Linked DNA regions of Homo sapiens: all the other regions are linked to region 6. The links are contacts of gene promoters, found by promoter capture Hi-C in blood cells and fetal thymus (Javierre and others, 2016). All regions are on one chromosome and are shown on one strand. Each heading gives the region's core, a stretch centred on a gene start or on the middle of the fragment in contact. The rest is flanking DNA. Distances are from core to core; before and after follow the strand shown. Region 1 overlaps MTMR12 (myotubularin related protein 12). Region 2 overlaps MTMR12 (myotubularin related protein 12). Region 3 has its middle 10 kb from the start of SUB1. Region 4 overlaps MTMR12 (myotubularin related protein 12). Region 5 overlaps MTMR12 (myotubularin related protein 12). Region 6 holds the start of ZFR (zinc finger RNA binding protein).

The links. Contacts are between HindIII fragments. The CHiCAGO score rates a contact against its expected background, and 5 or more counts as called.
Region 1: a fragment that was not itself captured here is called in contact with the fragment with the promoter of ZFR in region 6 in 5 of 17 cell types (activated CD4 T cells, total B cells, naive B cells and 2 more); the score reaches 7.4 in activated CD4 T cells.
Region 2: a contact is called between a fragment that was not itself captured here and the fragment with the promoter of ZFR in region 6, in 2 of 17 cell types (total B cells and naive B cells). The highest score is 5.9, in total B cells.
Region 3: a contact is called between a fragment that was not itself captured here and the fragment with the promoter of ZFR in region 6, in 6 of 17 cell types (total B cells, total CD8 T cells, naive B cells and 3 more). The highest score is 8.5, in total B cells.
Region 4: a contact is called between a fragment that was not itself captured here and the fragment with the promoter of ZFR in region 6, in 3 of 17 cell types (total B cells, non-activated CD4 T cells and naive B cells). The highest score is 6.8, in total B cells.
Region 5: a fragment that was not itself captured here is called in contact with the fragment with the promoter of ZFR in region 6 in 5 of 17 cell types (fetal thymus, total B cells, activated CD4 T cells and 2 more); the score reaches 8.2 in fetal thymus.

Annotation. Positions count from the first base shown.
Region 1 is chr5:32,225,300-32,227,999 of GRCh38, forward strand. MTMR12 (myotubularin related protein 12) reads right to left here. Exons shown (of 16, transcript NM_001040446.3): 16 at 1,708-2,700. Among named protein-coding and RNA genes, the nearest start is that of GOLPH3, 52 kb to the left of the region's middle. The HindIII fragment of the contact is 4,467 bases long and covers 1-2,700 here.
Region 2 is chr5:32,282,429-32,285,272 of GRCh38, forward strand. All of the region lies in intron 1 of MTMR12 (myotubularin related protein 12), which reads right to left. Among named protein-coding and RNA genes, the nearest start is that of MTMR12, 29 kb to the right of the region's middle. The HindIII fragment of the contact is 1,032 bases long and covers 982-2,013 here.
Region 3 is chr5:32,573,837-32,576,536 of GRCh38, forward strand. No RefSeq gene overlaps it. Among named protein-coding and RNA genes, the nearest start is that of SUB1, 10 kb to the right of the region's middle. RefSeq lists a silencer at 2,690-2,700. The HindIII fragment of the contact is 413 bases long and covers 1,090-1,502 here.
Region 4 is chr5:32,260,828-32,263,606 of GRCh38, forward strand. It overlaps MTMR12 (myotubularin related protein 12), which reads right to left. Exons shown (of 16, transcript NM_001040446.3): 7 at 2,286-2,415. Among named protein-coding and RNA genes, the nearest start is that of MTMR12, 51 kb to the right of the region's middle. RefSeq lists an enhancer at 493-592. The HindIII fragment of the contact is 1,664 bases long and covers 615-2,278 here.
Region 5 is chr5:32,242,669-32,245,368 of GRCh38, forward strand. It overlaps MTMR12 (myotubularin related protein 12), which reads right to left. Exons shown (of 16, transcript NM_001040446.3): 11 at 853-931. Among named protein-coding and RNA genes, the nearest start is that of MTMR12, 69 kb to the right of the region's middle. The HindIII fragment of the contact is 5,337 bases long and covers 1-2,700 here.
Region 6 is chr5:32,443,381-32,446,080 of GRCh38, forward strand. It overlaps ZFR (zinc finger RNA binding protein), which reads right to left and starts at 1,360. Exons shown (of 20, transcript NM_016107.5): 1 at 1,242-1,360; 2 at 849-948. The coding sequence starts at 1,278. RefSeq lists silencers at 403-742, 973-1,662 and an enhancer at 454-1,011. The HindIII fragment of the contact is 7,512 bases long and covers 1-2,700 here.

The DNA of each region.
Region 1 (2,700 bases), core at 103-2,602, 220 kb before region 6:
AGGGGCTAGTTCCCAACAGGAGCCGACCCCCCACCCTGTTTCACACTGGACGGAGAACATTCCACTCTTTACTCCCCAAGTCCCTCCATGCCCTCACCTGGACATCAAGGAACAAGCAAAATCAAGAGTGAGAGACAGCTAAGTCCACCAAAAGTACAAGAGCTAAACAAATGTGGAAAATAAGACGAGAAGCTGCTAAACTCTACGGTCACAACTACTACTTGGGAATTTAATACAAACACCAAAGAAGCAAAACATCTGAAAAGCACGTGGCATCCATGAGAGCTTATTAAATTCCAGGGGTGTCTCAGAGCTAGCTTTCTGGACATAGTGTGCTGGCCAGATAGGAAAGGGGGATGGGGACAAGCAGCAGAGTGGGAAGCCTCCTCTGTAGGTAGGAAAGGTCAAAGAAATATGAGCCTTGTTTCTCAGAACATACAAAGTGCTATGTCTCAATCTAGTTAAGTATTAAAACGAATTAGAAACAAATCCTACTCTCATAAGCCATCTTACCCTGTGCTCGCTCACTTAACCTCTCTGAAAGCAAAAACAAAGCCTTTTTCTATCTTTCATGGTTTAAATGTACTCAGATCTCTTCCAGCAATTTTTATTCCAGAGTAACAGAATTCTAATTTTACAGATCCCCACAAAAAGCAGAGAGGTAATAATATTTAATTTCAGGGTTAAAAACTCTTTTCTTTTAATCACCCTATCCCCACCCTATTTTTTCTTCAGCATTTTATCATCACCTGGGATTTTTTTTTCTTTTCAGACAGAGCCCTCCTCTGTTGCCCAGGCTGGAGTGCCGTGGTGCTATCTTGGCTCACTGCAACCTCCACCTCTCAGGTTCAAGCGATTCTCCTGCCTCATCCTCCCAAGTAGCTGGGATCACAGGCATGCGCCACCACACCCAGCTAATTTTGTATTTTTAGTAGAGACAGGGTTTCACCACGTTGCCAGGCTGGTCTTGAACTCCCGACACTTCAGGTGATCCGCCCGCCTCGGCCTCCCAAAGTGCTGGTATTACAGGCGTGAGCCACAGTGTCAGCTAGATTTTTTATTATTTTTACCTTAGATTCAGAGGGTACATGTGCAGGTTTATTACATGGGTATATTGCGTGATGCTGAAGTTTGGGCTTCAATTGAACCCATCACTCAAATGGTGAACACAGTACCCAATAGGTGGTTTTTCAACCCTTCCCTGACTCCCTCCCCATTTTGAGTCCCGTGTCTGTTGTTCTTATCTTTACGTCCAATACCCAATGTTTAGCTCCCACTTATGAGAACATTCAGTATTTGGTTTTCTGTTTCTGCATTAATTCACTTAGGATAATGGACTCCAGCTGCATCCATGTTGCCGCAAAGGACGTGATTCCATTCTTTTTTATAGCTGTATAGTATCCCATGGTGTATATGTACCACATTTTCCTGATCCAATCCATCACTGATGGGCACCTGGGTTGATTCCATGTCTTTGCTATTGTGAATAGTGCTGTGATATACATGTAACTGCAAATCACCTATTATAAATATTTGTTTGGTTATCGGTTCCCACCACCAAACCTCCCTGTGCCCCACAAGAACGCAAACTGCACTCTTCCCTGCTGTCCCCACTGGCCCTGCCAAGTACCCAGTACATGCTCAATATTTCCTGAAAGAATGAAACGGATTACTCCATGTGTTATACCAACCACACCAAGTACAGTATTGCTTGTAAATTGTGCTTTAATTTCTGCAATCAGATATGATGCAGTGAGATACAAGTATAAACTTTCATTGTGCATCCAGAAAATAAAAAGCACAAGTATACAGGTTTAGCTCAACAGCTTATTCCCTTATAAAGAAAAAAAAAGTTTTGAATTAAAGCTAGTTTATCTTCAGTGTAAAAACTTGGAGGTATAAACAAACTCAAGATATTATATACAGTAAATTAATTTACATTTCCAAACTTGCACAGTACAGCATTTTAAACAAAGTAAATGGTCTCATTTCAGCTCTCACTGTTAAGCATAATCCACATCCCAATCTCAGATAAAAATTTCACAATATATAAATCCATTGAGAATTCTGTACACAAATACGAGTTATAGAAATCTGATTTCAAATATAAATACAAAAATTGTCATGACCTTACACGTTACAACAGCTTATTTTTCTATTGTAATTTTAAAAAATCATAGAAAAATATGTCAATGCACATTCAACTGCTATGACAAAGGCCATGACCTTGTGCCTTTAAACCATACTTTGTAGAGTGTAAAGCATCACACCGGGCATTTTTGGAATGAAAATTACAAAGCCTGAAGAGGCTACTGTATAAATATTCACGTTATAACGTGGTAACAAAAATAGCTCCATAGCATATTTGGGAGGCAATGGGGCAGAGAAGGAAGTGGAGGTTAGTGCTAATTTAAGAAGGCCTATAGAATGTATGTGAAGGTAGCTAAGGAACTAGTTAGTGTATTTTAAAATCCCTATTGCAAGCCTAACACTGACCTCGCTAGTAACTCTTAAGGCAATCAAGACGGAACATGTGTTTGGCCCCCAGATGCACGAATCCTGCCCTCCCCTCAACCTTTGTTCATCCTAACAGACCAACCTGGCTCCTGCATTAATATGGAGTGGGGAGAACAGCAAAACAATTCACTGTATGTACAAAAGACAATTCAGTGCAAACCTAGAAACTTCTCTTAGTCAATA
Region 2 (2,844 bases), core at 248-2,747, 160 kb before region 6:
AAATAAATAAATAAATAAATAAATAAATAAATAAATAAAATAAAAAATAAAAATCATCATGAGTATCTAATCCTTTCTGGTTAACACTTCAAAAAAATTATAAATATACACTATGCAAGTCTTACAGATAATCAACTCAGGTAAAAAACAAATAACCATCATCACCACTATCAACTGCTTCCCCCCTCAAACAAAAATCCAAACCAGTCCCAAGAAGAGAAATAACCTAGAGGACTCCAAAAAATCAGGGTATACAAATAAGAATCATAAAGAAATCCTTGCCTCAAAAATAAGTTTAATTGGAGTTTTTCTTTGAATTTGATTTTCACAAGTTACCTGTTTGGGTGGGTAGGAAGGACGGAACGGAGAGTATTCACTGGCAATGTCTGTAGTCTCTTCATCCCTATATTTCACAATCGCTTTTTGAACTCCACAAGAAAAACAAAGAAAGAACTGACAAATATGGAGCTAATATATTTCAATATTCTTAAGAGAAAACGGATTTACCATTCTTTGCTTGTTGATCACAGGAGAATGAACATAGCTGAATGAAGGAGAGCAGAGGTGGATACCAACAAGGTACGAGAGCACCCGTATCTGGATGTGCTGAGTCCTACATGTGGATCTTGGAGTGGGTTCCCCTGAAATTCCCCTATGTGCATCCTACTCCTAACCATGCTGTATTCTGAATGTGTATAAGCTGTTGTTTTCATTGGCAAATTTGTTGGGTGAGTGATTAAAGGCTGTCCAAACTTTACAATTGAATGAGTAAATATAATCTCTTTCTTAGTGGCATTACAAATTACTACACTGTGACCAAGAGTCACTTGTGGACTGTAGACATCACAGATGTCCAATCTGTGAACGCCAAAGTCTACTGTTCCTTTTTCCAAAGTGGGTACAGGGCCAGCCCTTACTGAGGTTGAGAAGTGAATAATAACAAACATTTCTTGGGCTCTAAGTGCCAGCTACTGTCTAAAAAGCTTTGTATTTATTTATTAACTCATTTAATCCTCACAGCAAACCTTTGCAATAGAGTTATTATACCCATGATTGTCTCCATTTTACAGATGAAGACACCCTGCTAGTATGTGGCACAGGTGAAAGTCAAACCCTGTGCGCAGTCTGCGTTCCTGGCCCAGTCTGCATTCTTATTCAATGCCACACTGTCATGTGGAAAGAAGGAATGAAAGGAAAAAGGAAAAACAAGGCAGAATGATCAGTGAAGTACCTGCTAGATCCACCTGAAACCAGGTAAAAGCGAGCAACACAAAGTGACCAGGGAAAGCCTCGAATGAGAGTTATAGAGAGGCCAAGGGAAGCTAAAGGGAAAACAACAACAAAAGACACCTACACCCAACCTAAGTGACACTGGCCAGCTGCATGGAGAAGAACCTTGAGGCTCCTCAACACCTACTGAAAGTGTTACCTCTTATGACTCACTCCACTGGGTCCTCTGAGGCATGAGTCTCTAATTTTCAAGCCAACTGACTCAAGAGTTCAATGGGACTCCAGGAAAGGCTCTAACCATGAATAACACTGGTATGTATGCCTGAGCAATTCTTGCTTCCTTTCAAGAGTATATAATCTTGGCCAGGCGCGGTGGCTTATGCCTGTAATCACAGCACTGTTGGAGGCCAAGGTGGATGGACCGGATCACTTGAGCTTAAGAATTCGAGACTAGCCTGGGCAACATGGCCAAACCCCATTTCCACAAAAAAAAATTTTTTTTTTTTTTAATTAGCCAGGCATGGTGGCATGTGCCTGTAGTCCCAGTTACTCAGAAGGCTGGGGCGGGAGAATCACCTCAGCCTGGGAGGTCAAGGCTGCAGTGAGCTATGATTGCACCACTGTACTCCAGCCTGGGTGACAGAACAAGACCCTGTCTCAAAAAAAAAAAAAAAAAAAAAGAATAGAAAAGAAACAATAGCTAGGCTTAGCCACTAATATGGATGGCATCACCAAATGCTCTACTCATATTGCAATATACTGAAAAACGGAGGATTCCTCTAAAGCTTAATGGAAAGACTATTACTTGTGAAGCCTTTTCAGAGAGAGCAGTAGATAGGCCCAGCACATCCCAGGATCTAACAGCCAATTCAATCAGCATCCAGTGAGAGCTGCCTGTGTACTATCCCTATTCTTTGGGGTGGTGGGAGCTTCTTAAACCATAAACTAGTTTTACAGAAGGGTCTAGAGTTGCCCTTAAGCCTCTGCGCCTTTAACTCTGACACTCCCTACCAACTACCTAGTTAGTAGATGTTGACAACCTTACTTCTGCAGCTGTGAAACACGAGGTAACATTCCTCACTTATTCCACTAACTATCATGTTCAATGTGCAGCAAAAAGGTAGAAAAGGTATAGTTCTTTAATACTCAAGCAGAACTGGTTCTACTGGTTAGGCTGACAGACTTTTCTTAAAAAACTAACTCTGAAAATTATGGAAATTTTCAACAAATGCATCAGTTAAAAATGGTCTTTGTGCTTTGTATACCACCTCTTGCTGCTCCATTTGAATTTGAACAAAGCTTGCCATTATGGCACAAAGGAAAGGCAAAAACTGCTGGCACCAGGATCACAGCACGTCCAGGTTTTCTAAACTAGAATATCTCAGTGGGGCTTAAATTCAATTAGAACAGAAGCATGGGCCAGGCACAGTGGCTCACGCCTGTAATCCCAGCACTTTGGGAGGCCGAGGTAGGTGGATCACTTGAGGTCAGGAGTTTGAGACCAGCCTGGCCAACATGGTGAAACCCCGTCTCTACTAAAAATACAAAAATTAGCCGGGTGTGGTGGCACACACCAGTAATCCCAGCTACTTGGGAGGCTGAGGCAGGAGAATT
Region 3 (2,700 bases), core at 46-2,545, 130 kb after region 6:
GGATTACAGGCATGAGCCACCATTCCCAGCCCTATTTCCATTATTTTAACTTCTAATGCCTGAAAATGAATAGATACAAGAAGAAACATTTAAATGGAGATGTAACTAATCCAATGGCAAAACATTAAAAAAAAATTAAAATAAAACTTACTGACCAAAGAAAGAAAGAAAAGTAGAAATTAAAATGTTTCACTATTGGGTTCAATGTACATTATTCAGGTGACAGGTACACTAAAAGCTCAGACTTCACCACTATACAATTCATCTGTGTAGCCAAAAACCACTGAACCCTTACAGCTATTGAATTTTTTTTTTTTTTGAGACGGAGACTTGCTCTGTTGCCTAGGCTGGAGTGTAGTAGTGCGATCTCAACTCACTGCAACCTCTGCCTCCCGGATTCAAGCAATTCTCCTGCCTCAGCCTCCCAAGTAGCTGGGATTACAGGCACACACCACCATGCCCGGCTAATTTTTATATTTTTTTAGTGGAGATGGGGTTTCACTATGTTGGGCAGGCTGGTCTGGAACTCCTGATCTTGTGATCCACCCACCTCGGCCTCCCAAAGTGCTGGGATTACAGGCATGAGCCACTGCGCCTGTCCAAAAAGTTTTTTAAAAAGGTCTGGGGTGGGCCAGCCAACTGGTTACACAGTTGTCTGGGATCCCATGGAATATTTAACCTGACCTCTGATGGGAACAGGAAACTGAGACCCAGGGAGGTAAAATGACTTGCCCTTGCCCTGTTATGGTCAATATCACTGTAGGTCTCTGGACCCAGCTCTTTAGCAACCTTTCCATGCCTCTATGCAGCTCCCCATGTATCAGTTCTCTGAGAGAATGCAGCTTGGGCATCTGTAACTCTTAGGTTGAATTCAGGCAGTTTACCACTTCTCCTTGGCTCATAATGTCTAGGACAGCCTTGAATAGGTTCAGAAATCATGTGGCAACAAAATCCCCCCTTGATATCATGGTATATGGGTTATGTTTGGTATTTGCAAAGCAAACAACTGGGATCAAATTCCAGCACTGCTACTTAGCCGCTGTGTGACACTGGTATCTTTGTGTCCTAAGACTGTAATAAATTGTCACAAGCTTCGTAGTTTAAATCAACAGAAATTTGGCCAGGCATGGTGGCTCATGCCTGTAATTCCAGCACTTTGGGAGGCTGAGGTAGGTGGATCACTTGAGGTCAGGAGTTTGAGACCAGCCTGGCCAACATGGTAAAACCCTGTCTCTACTAAAAATGCAAAAATTAGCCAAGTGTGGTGGCAGACGCCTGTAATCCCAGCTACTTGTGAGGCTGACAGGAGAACTGACTGCTTGAACCTAGGAGGCAGAGATTGCAGTGAGGCGAGATCATGCCACTGAACTCCAGCCTGGGCGACTAGAACAAGATTCTGTCTCAAAAAATCAATCAATCAATCAACAGAAATTTATTATCTTAAAGTTCTGGAGGGTAGAAGTCGAAAATCAAGGCAACGGGAGGGCCATGCTCCTCCTGAAAGCTTTAGGGAAGAGTCCTCCCTTGCCTCTGCCTAGTTTCTGGTGCCTGCCCGCAATCCTTGGTGTTCCTCGGCTTGTAAGATGCATCCAAGTGTCTTTCTGCTTTCTCTGGTAAAGACACAGGTCACTGTATTTGAAGCCCATCCTAATTTAGTATGACTTTGTCATAATGTGATTACATCTGCAAAGACCCTATTTTCAAATGTAGTCACAATCACAGGTACTGGGGTTAGGACTTGGGTAGATTTTTTGAGGGGGGTTACAATTCAACCAACTAACTCAGGTAACTCCCTTCACCAATCTGAGTACAGTTTCTTCCTTTCTATAATGGAATAAAACACCTCTCTCCCAGGCTTAATGTGAATACAATGAGATGACATGCATAAGTGCCCGGAATATAGGAGGTGCTCTGAAGATGCTGCCAACTCCCCCTTGGATTTCTTTGTTCCTAAAGTCAAGCTCAGTGATCGCACATAGTAGATAAGTTTGGCAGTTGATTGATTTTCTAAATCAGAAGTGTAAATGCCCAGTGGACTTTGCACCAAAGGACCCAGAGATCTGGCTATGCATTCTCTAAGTGTCTTTTCACAAGGCAAGACTCTCCCAGTCCCTCTTGGAGAATCACTTTTGAGACACATTTACTAGTTCTACCTGCTTTCTCCTTAAATCACCATGGATAGCAGCATCCTTTCTGCACATCTCGGGTTCTGCTTGGATTTAGCATTAACTCCTTGATAACATGTTATGAGGACAAAATCTCTGCTTTCTGTGTGGAATTGACACAAAGATATTTACACTATTGAATTAAGGCTTCTAATTTGGCTTTATAGGTGAGCTCCTAGTCAGAATACTGAAGAATTAATAAAAATTACATAAATGACCTAAAGAAATGTGAATTCATATAGATTGTTTAAAATGGGCAAGTTTTATTAGAAAACTATCCTATTTAACAGCATCCCTGGTAAATAAGAAAACAAACAAACAAAAATGGCTGGGCGCAGTGGCTCACGCCTGTAATCCCAGCACTTTGGGAGGCCAAGGCGGGCAGATCACCTGAGGTCAGGAGTTCGAGACCAGCCTGGCCAACATGGTGAAACCCCATCTCTACTAAAAATACAAAAAAAAAAAAAAAATTAGCCAGGCGTGGTGGCAGGTGCCTGTAATCCCAGGTACTTGGGAGGCTGAGGCAGGAGAATCA
Region 4 (2,779 bases), core at 197-2,696, 180 kb before region 6:
GAGCTCTACAAAAATACAAAGTTGTATGAATCTGTTAGCAGGGTGTTAGGGAGTATGTTCCAAAATGATAACATTCAAGTTTCTGAAAACAGATTATACAGTCATGCTTTAAAAATGTAGGTCAGCCAGGCGCAGTGGCTCACGCGTGTAATCCCAGCACTTTGGGAGGCTGAGGCAGGCAGATCACTTGAGGTCAGGAGTTCAAGACCAGCCTGGCCAACATTGTGAAACCCCATCTCTACTAAAAATACAAAAATTAGTGGGGCGTGGTGGCAGGCGCCTGTAATCCCAGCTACTCAAGAGGCTGAGGCAGGAGAATCACTTGAACCCAGGAGGCAGAGGTTGCGGTGAGCCGAGATAGCACCACTGCACTTCAGCCTGGGTGACAGAGTGAGACTCAGTCTCAAAAAAACATGTAGGTCAGATCATGTCTGCTTCTACTCAGCCTCCCTCTCACTGTCCTCCCATCAAAGTCTCTGGGCCCATCATCTCCCACTCCTCTCCCTAGCTTGCTCCTCCCCCATCCCTGGGCACCTTGCTGTTCCTCCCCCAGGCCTTTGCTCTTACTCCTCCCTCCACCTGGAATGCTCCTCCCTCGGGTGTCCTCTGACTCAAGCTTTCACTTCCTTTACGACTATGCTTACAAGCCACCATGCAAAACCTTACTTCCACCATGTAAAACCTTCCTGACCAACCCTCCCACCATCACCTCCAGCACTCCCTAACCATGTGCTGGATCTGATTTTCTCCATAGCACTTATCTATTAACATGCTATAATTTACTTCTTTATTCTACCATCATCTTCCTCCCTCCAGAATGATAGCTCCAAGAGGGCAGAGGTTTTCAGGTGCCCTGTTGACTGCTGCCATCTCTAATAGCTAGGACACTGCCAAGCAAATGGAAGGCAGTCAAAAATTTTTGGTGAATGAATAAAAGAAGTGCTCAATAAAAGGGAAGAAAAAGGCCGGGCGCAATGGCTCACACCTGTAATCCCAGCACTTTGGGAGGCCGAGGCGGGCAGATCACAAGGTCAGGAGATCAAGACCATCCTGGCTAACAGGGTGAAACCCTGTCTCTACTAAAAACACAAAAAATTAGCCAGGCGTGGCGGCAGGTGCCTGTAGTCCAAGCTACTCAGGAGGCTGAGGCAGGAGAATGGCGTGAACCCAGGAGGCGGAGCTTACAGTGGACCGAGATCACGCCACTGCACTCCAGCCTGGGGGACAGAGAGAGACCCCATCTTAAAATGAATAATAAATAAGTACATAATAAAAAGCTAGTATTGATGTGGAGGAAGAAACTCTCATACACTGTTGGTAGGAATATAAAATGGAACAGTCTCTGTGAAAAAGTCTGTGAGTGCCTCAAAAGGGTAAACACAAATTTCCACAGGATCTGGCAGTCCACTTCTAGGTAATATACCCAAGAAAAATAAAAACATACATCTACACAAAAATTTATAATTGAATGTTCATATCAATATTATTCATGGCCAGGCATGATGGCTCATGCCTGTAATCCTAGAAGTTTGGAAGGCCGAGGTGAGAGGATCGCTTGAGCCCAGGAGTTCAAAACCAGCCTGGGCAACATGGTGAAACCCCATCTCTACAAAAAGCAGAAAAATTAGACAGGCATGGTGGTGCACGCCTGTGGTCCCAGCTACTCAGGAGGCTGAGGTGGGAGAATCACTTGAGCCGAGACGGAGGTTGCAGTGAGCCGAGATGGCACCACTGCACTCCAGCATGGTGCAGCATAGGTGTCGGAGCAAGACCCTGTCTCAAACAAAAACAAAAACAAAAACAAAAAACCAAAAAACATTATTCAAAGAGCCAAAAAGTGAAAATAATCCAATAGTCCATCAACTAATAGATGGATAAATTAAATGTGCTATATCCACATTATGGAACATTACTTGGCAATAAAAAAGAATGAGATTCTGATACAAGCTGCAAAATAAACAGACTTTGAAAACATCATGCTAAGTGAAAGAACCAAGTCATAAAAGATCACATATGATATGATTCCATTTATATGAAATGTTCACAACAGGCAAGTCTATAGTGATAGAAAGTAGATTAGTGGTTGTCTAGGACTGGGGAAGAAAGAGAGGTATTCGGGGAAAATGGGGAGTGACAGCCAATGGGTATGGAGTTTCTTTTTGGGAGGATGAAAATGTTCTAAATTGACTGTGGTGATGACTGCACAACCCTGTGAATATACTAAAAAACACTGTACACTTTTAATGGGTGAATTGTACAGCATGTGCCCAGCATGGAAAGCTTACCTCTCACAGACTTTATAGCCTTCGTTGACACTCACTGCTTTGTACTTCATGTTGCCTTTGGTCCGTTCCAGTTCCCAACACCAGTCCTTAAGTGTGTCAAACATTACGGTATGGTTCTTGGGATCAGTGACTAAGAGAACAAAATGTAAAAGACAATAAAATCTTTCCATGAAGCACTGGTGCTTTTATTATGTGAAAGTCCCTCCTTAGGTTTTGGTTTCCTCCACTAAGCCCATTTTTATCCAAGCAGAATGAATTGATTGCTTAATCCTAACCTTGTTCCATTTTTTGTCATTAATCCAAAATTATGACTGAGTCTCTTTTTTTTTTTTTTTTGAGATGGAGTCTTGCTCTACTGCCCCTGCTGGAGTGCAGTGGCCAGTGGTGCCATCTTGGCTTACTGCAACCTCCGCCTGCCAGGTTAAAGTGATTCTCCCGCCTTAGCCTCATGAGTAGCTGGGACTACAGGAACGCACCACCACATATGGCTAATT
Region 5 (2,700 bases), core at 171-2,670, 200 kb before region 6:
ACCCCCCAGCCACCTTCCCTTCCCACACCCCGACTCTTCATCTGGCTAGAGATGCTCACCCTTCTCTGCCCACCCCACACAAAGAAGGGTTCTTTGCTTCCATAACATTTATCCCTGTCTGCCATTATATATTCAAATTATGAGACGTGTAGCAGGATGTCTGGAGCACAGTTCAGTGTCTGGAGGGCCAAGGCTCCTTTCCGCAGTACTCACTTCAGAATGGAGGGAGAATGTGTGTGAGGCAGTAGGAAGCATTGCTCTCCCTCCTGAAATGTAGCCTAGCATTAGAGCTACTCTGTCATCCTGATCATCATTTCTGTTTTGCACCTTTCTCTGCCATATCCTCTATTTAATGGCAACAGAGAAGAGCTATTCAATATAGAAAGTAGGAAAGGCAATATAACTGTTTTCTGGAACTCTCAACCTAACTCCCAAACCAAAAATAACTGACATTAATCATGGTTTTTAAAAACACAGATAATATATGCGTAAGACACAAGATTAAAAAAGGTATTCAGTGAAAAGTCAGTATCACTCCTGTTCTCACCCTCAGTTTCCTCCCTGGAGGCCAGCACTGCTGCCTCAATAATAATTCTGGGTTGTCACACTCTTTCTGTGTTTTTTCAATGCCTTGTCTGTAGAGTACATCTCCTTGTAAGCAGGTGGCATGTTCATAAATTCCTATCAAATGTGCACAGAAATAAGTAGCAAATATAAAATCTAGCTGTAGAACATGTGATCTAAGAATATTTAACTGTCAAATATCAAACAGTTAAATTATTTGTCGGTTTGATCTACTACCCTGAGTTATACAATTACAAAATTCATGAGTAAAACAATGGTTTGAAATACCTGATTATGTCAAGCCAGCTGCTACTTTCCAACAGAGAAAACCATTTTATATCTGTGTCCCAAAATTCAGTACTGTTATCTGAAAAAAGAAAAAGGAGTAAAGACGTCAGGTCATTGTTCACTGACATACTTGCCACAAAAATCCTGTGCTCCTCAACTGTGTCATTCAGATTAACAGTCCTGACTCAAACTGCAGAATCCAGGCACAGGACTCTATTTTGAGTAAGGGTCATTTCAAAACTTCAGCTGAAATGGTTTCTGAGCTGTAGGCCCCTAGAAGATTGTGGTGGTCAAAAAGAGATCTTTATTGCTGAAATAAGAAATTCCTACAATGCATACACAAAGCCATGGTTCATCCTGTAGGTCGACAGAGAGTAACATGCTTTAGGCAGAAATAGTTGACATCCAGGCTGTTAATTCTAGAAGTGGAAAATGCAACTGGATCCATCCTGATGCCACGGAAGCCTAAGGGTCAGGCTTAACTTTCATTAGAATCTCAATGCACAAGTTCGTCCACCCAGCATACCATGACATGACTCCTCCTACATGCCTTATAAAACAGAGAACCTTAAATCTTACAGAAATCCAATATATTTAAAAGCTGCAAACTCAGGCTGGGTGCTGTGGCTCATGCCTATAATCCCAGCACTATAATCCCAGAAGCAGGAAGATCACTTGAGGCCAGGAGTTTGAGGCTGCAGTGAGCTATGGTGGCGCCACTGCACCCTAGCCTTGGCAACAGAGTGAGACCCTGTTTCTAAAAAATGAAAAGAAAAAAAAAAAAAAAGGCCAGATGTGGTGGCTCACGCCTGTAATCCCTGCACTTTGGGAGGCGGAGGTGGGCGCGTCACCTGAGGTCAGAAGTTTGAGACCAGCCTGACCAACACAGAGAAACCCCGTCTCTACTAAAATACAAAAAAATTAGCTGGGGGTGGTGGCCCATGCCTGTAATCCCAGCCACTTGGGAGGCTGAGGCAGGAGAATTGCTTGAACCAGGGTGGCGGAGGTTACAGTGAGCTAAGATCGCACCATTGCACTCCAGCCTGGGCAACAAGAACAGAACTCCATCTCAAGAAAAAAAGAAAAAAAAAGTTGCAAACTCAAATCAATAAAAGACAGATATCCCTGAAAGTCCTGAGTGACTGAAATAAAACTAGAATGAGTGTCCTTGATTAAATAGTAAACATGTATTGTAATGTTTTAGTTTGAGTTAAGAGTCATACATTGCTGTTTCCCCTGCAAGAATATAAGCTCTTGGTGTTATATTTCTCTTTATCACCAACGACTAGCATAGTTAATATATACAAGGGGACTTCAAAAAGTATGTGAAAACATGGAATTAAAAGATGAAAATAAAAAATATAAACTTTATTTCTCAACATAAGCTCCATCAAGTTTAAGACACTCTCAACCCCCTCTAAAGAACTGAGGGTCCTGGGAATTTAACCATGTCATTGCAGTCTATTTTACATTATTAACTGAAAAAAAAAAATGTGTTCCCTTCAAGGATTTTTGTGTTTTTTTTGAGATGGAGTTTTGCTCTTGTCACCCAGGCTGGAGCGCAATGTGCAATGGCACAATCTCAGCTCACTGCAACCTCTGCCTCCCGGGTTCAAGCGATTCTTCTGTCTCAGCCTCCGGAGTAGCTGGCATTACAGGTGCCCACCACCATGCCTGGCTAATTTTTGTATTTTTAGTAGAGATGGGGTTTCACCATGTTGGCTAGGCTGGTCTTGAATTCCTGACCTCTGGTGATCCGCCCACCTCGGCCTCCCAAAGTGCTGCAATTATACACGTGAGCTACTACGCCCAGCCCCCTTTAAGGATTTTTTAAGATTAGAAAATGAA
Region 6 (2,700 bases), core at 110-2,609:
ACAATCTCACTTGCATCTTCTTCCCTCCCCACCATTCCCCGCAGGGGAAAGACCCCCGCAAGGAGAATGACAGGCCCACCTGGGGCCTAAACTCCATAGCTCAAACAAGGCTGGGCACTCATTTATCAGCACTAGAAACTTCGCACATCTTTTCCAGTCTAAGAACTACACAATTTACAGGTGGTTGGTATGTGAATCTCTCTCCTTGCAGGAAAAACTAAAGGAACCCGATGAACACAGTGACACCCGCAGTTTGTCAGCAGGACTCGCTAGCGATGGAGCGTCTGGGGAAGAAGCCCCACGGCGGAGGAAAAGGTACCCGAGACAACGACACGTTATCTGGGCTCCGGGGGTTGAAGCACCAGGCGACGACGCAGAGAGGCGTCGCACGAGAAGCCAGTGGACCTGCGACACGGCACTCCCCGTGAGGTCCCTTCAGCCACCCTCTCCATCCCCCAAGTGGGAAGAAGATGGGAGGTGGGGGCTGGACGCGCGGAGGCGGGGACTGGGGGGCCTGCCGGGCGGCGGTGGCGGCTCCGCTCGGCGGCCGCAGGAGGCCATTTTAGTTAAGGGGCCGCTGAAGGGCCCTGAGGCCTCCACGTCCCTACACCTCCGCCGTCTCTACCTCCCCCCTACTGGGGGCCGCTCCCCGCCGCGGGCCGGGCCGGGCCGGGCAAGGCGGGGCGGGGCGGGGCGGGGCGGGAGAGGCCGCCGGGCTGGGCCGGGCCAGGCCTGCAGCGGGCCGGGGCTCTGGGATGGCTGGGGACGGGCGCGGGGGCGTCGCATCGACAGGATCCGGACCGAGGGGAGAGCAAGGGGCGAACAGAGAGAAGGCAGGATGCCGTTACCTATATTGGGCCGCAGCCGCCGCCGCCGCCGCCCCGCTGTGGGTGAATCCAAAGTAGTTGCCGGTCGCCATTTTGGCATCTTCCCCCAGCCGGCTGGGCACTGCGGCGGGCACGAAGAGTCGGGTCCCATGGCGGGACAAGAGACACAGAGGAGCCGAGACGCCGAGGGAGGGCAGGGAGAGAAAGAGAGAGGCGCCGTGAGAGCAGCCCTGGCGGGGCCCAGGCCGCGGCCGCGCCGCCTCCCCCTCCCGCCTCGCACTCCCTCACTCACTCGCACGCCCGGGTGGCGGCCGCCGCCTCCTCCCCGGAGCCTGCCCCAACCCCCGCGGCTCCCCGCTGCCCGGGGCCAGGGAGGGGGCCGGGCAGAGGCCTCGCGGGCCACATTAGACTCACCATAGGTGAAAGAAACTACAGGGCATATGGGAATCATGGGCTCGGGCTGCTGCTGCTGAACTCTGAACTCTCACCCGCTGCCTCCCTCCTCTGCCCCGCTCCTCCTCAGCGGAGAACAGACCGCCGCCTCCGACCGCACTGCGCAGGCGCGCCTGTGCTCGGCATCCTGGGAGCTGTAGTCCCCGCCGTCTTCGCGGCTCCCCCGGGCGCGTGCCGGGGCCTCGGCGGTGCGGGCGCGGGGAAGCCCGCGGGGGAAGAGGGGCCTGGCCTTCTCCGAAGTGGTGGTGACGCCGCGCGGCCGCGGGGCGACGGGGGCGTGTGCCAGAAGCGCCTCGCCTGTCCTCTGGGGAGTCGGGGAGCGTGACCAGAGAGAGTGACGTCTGTTCGCCTTTTTCTTTGCTTTCCACTGGCTTCCTTAACTTTTGCATGTGCACTTATTCCCTGCCTCCCTGTCTTCCTCGCTCATTAATTTTTCATTGGAATTCGAGCTGGGCAATTTAGGATTTTTCCTTATTTCCTGCTTTCCCGCAGCTTTTCCCCAACCTCTGAAGTGCGGAGGGAGGGAGAAGGAGAGGAGAGAAATAGAAAAAGGATGGAGAGTGCTTTTCTGTTGGACTAAAAGCACACCCTAAACATCCCTCCCGGACATACCTCTTGCTATACCCTTTCCTCGACCTGCACCCACTCCCTGAGCCATCCGGCGTATATCGGTCACCCAGCAGGGTGTCAGGCAGTGTTGTAGGTGCTGGAGATACGGCAGAGAACAAAACAAAGTCCCTGTTCCCGTGGAGTTTACGTTCTAGGAGCGGGTATATGTCAGCCAACAGCCGGTAGCCAAAACACAGAAATTCTGTCTGATGGTGACTGGAGCTTCAAGCATAAATAAAGCAGAGTAAGGAAAATAAGGGTAAGGGAGGTGCTATTTCATGTAGAGTGTGGTTAGGGAGACCACTTGAAGGAAGGAAGGACAGGCCTGGGAGATGCCTGCAGGAAGAGCAGCAAGTGGAAGGGTCCAGATGAAGGAATGAATGTTCAAGAGCAAGAAGATCAGTCTGGCTGGAGTCAAGTGAGAGGGAGACCAGATCACGTGCCAGATCTTTAGTGGTAAGGACAGAACAGTACTTGCCCCCATGTAAGCATTTCCTCTTTCCCTCTGTTTCCTCGCTTTCTTCCCTTTAGTTTCTCAGTTCGTTTTCAACCATTCTCTTTCCTCTTCCAGTCCCTCTTCTGATCGTCTAGTTTCTCTGGCCTTATGTTTCGTGTCTTCCATCAAGTACATATGTACTGCCTGCATTTCACCTCTTCCTTACCTTCTCCATGCCCATCCCCCAGACTCCCTGCTCCTCATCTCTCCTCATTGTTGGATATGAACATTAAAAGGAAATGCTGGCCGGGCGCGGTGGCTCACGCCTGTAATCCCAACACTTTGGGCGGCCGAGGCGGGTGGATCACGAGGTGA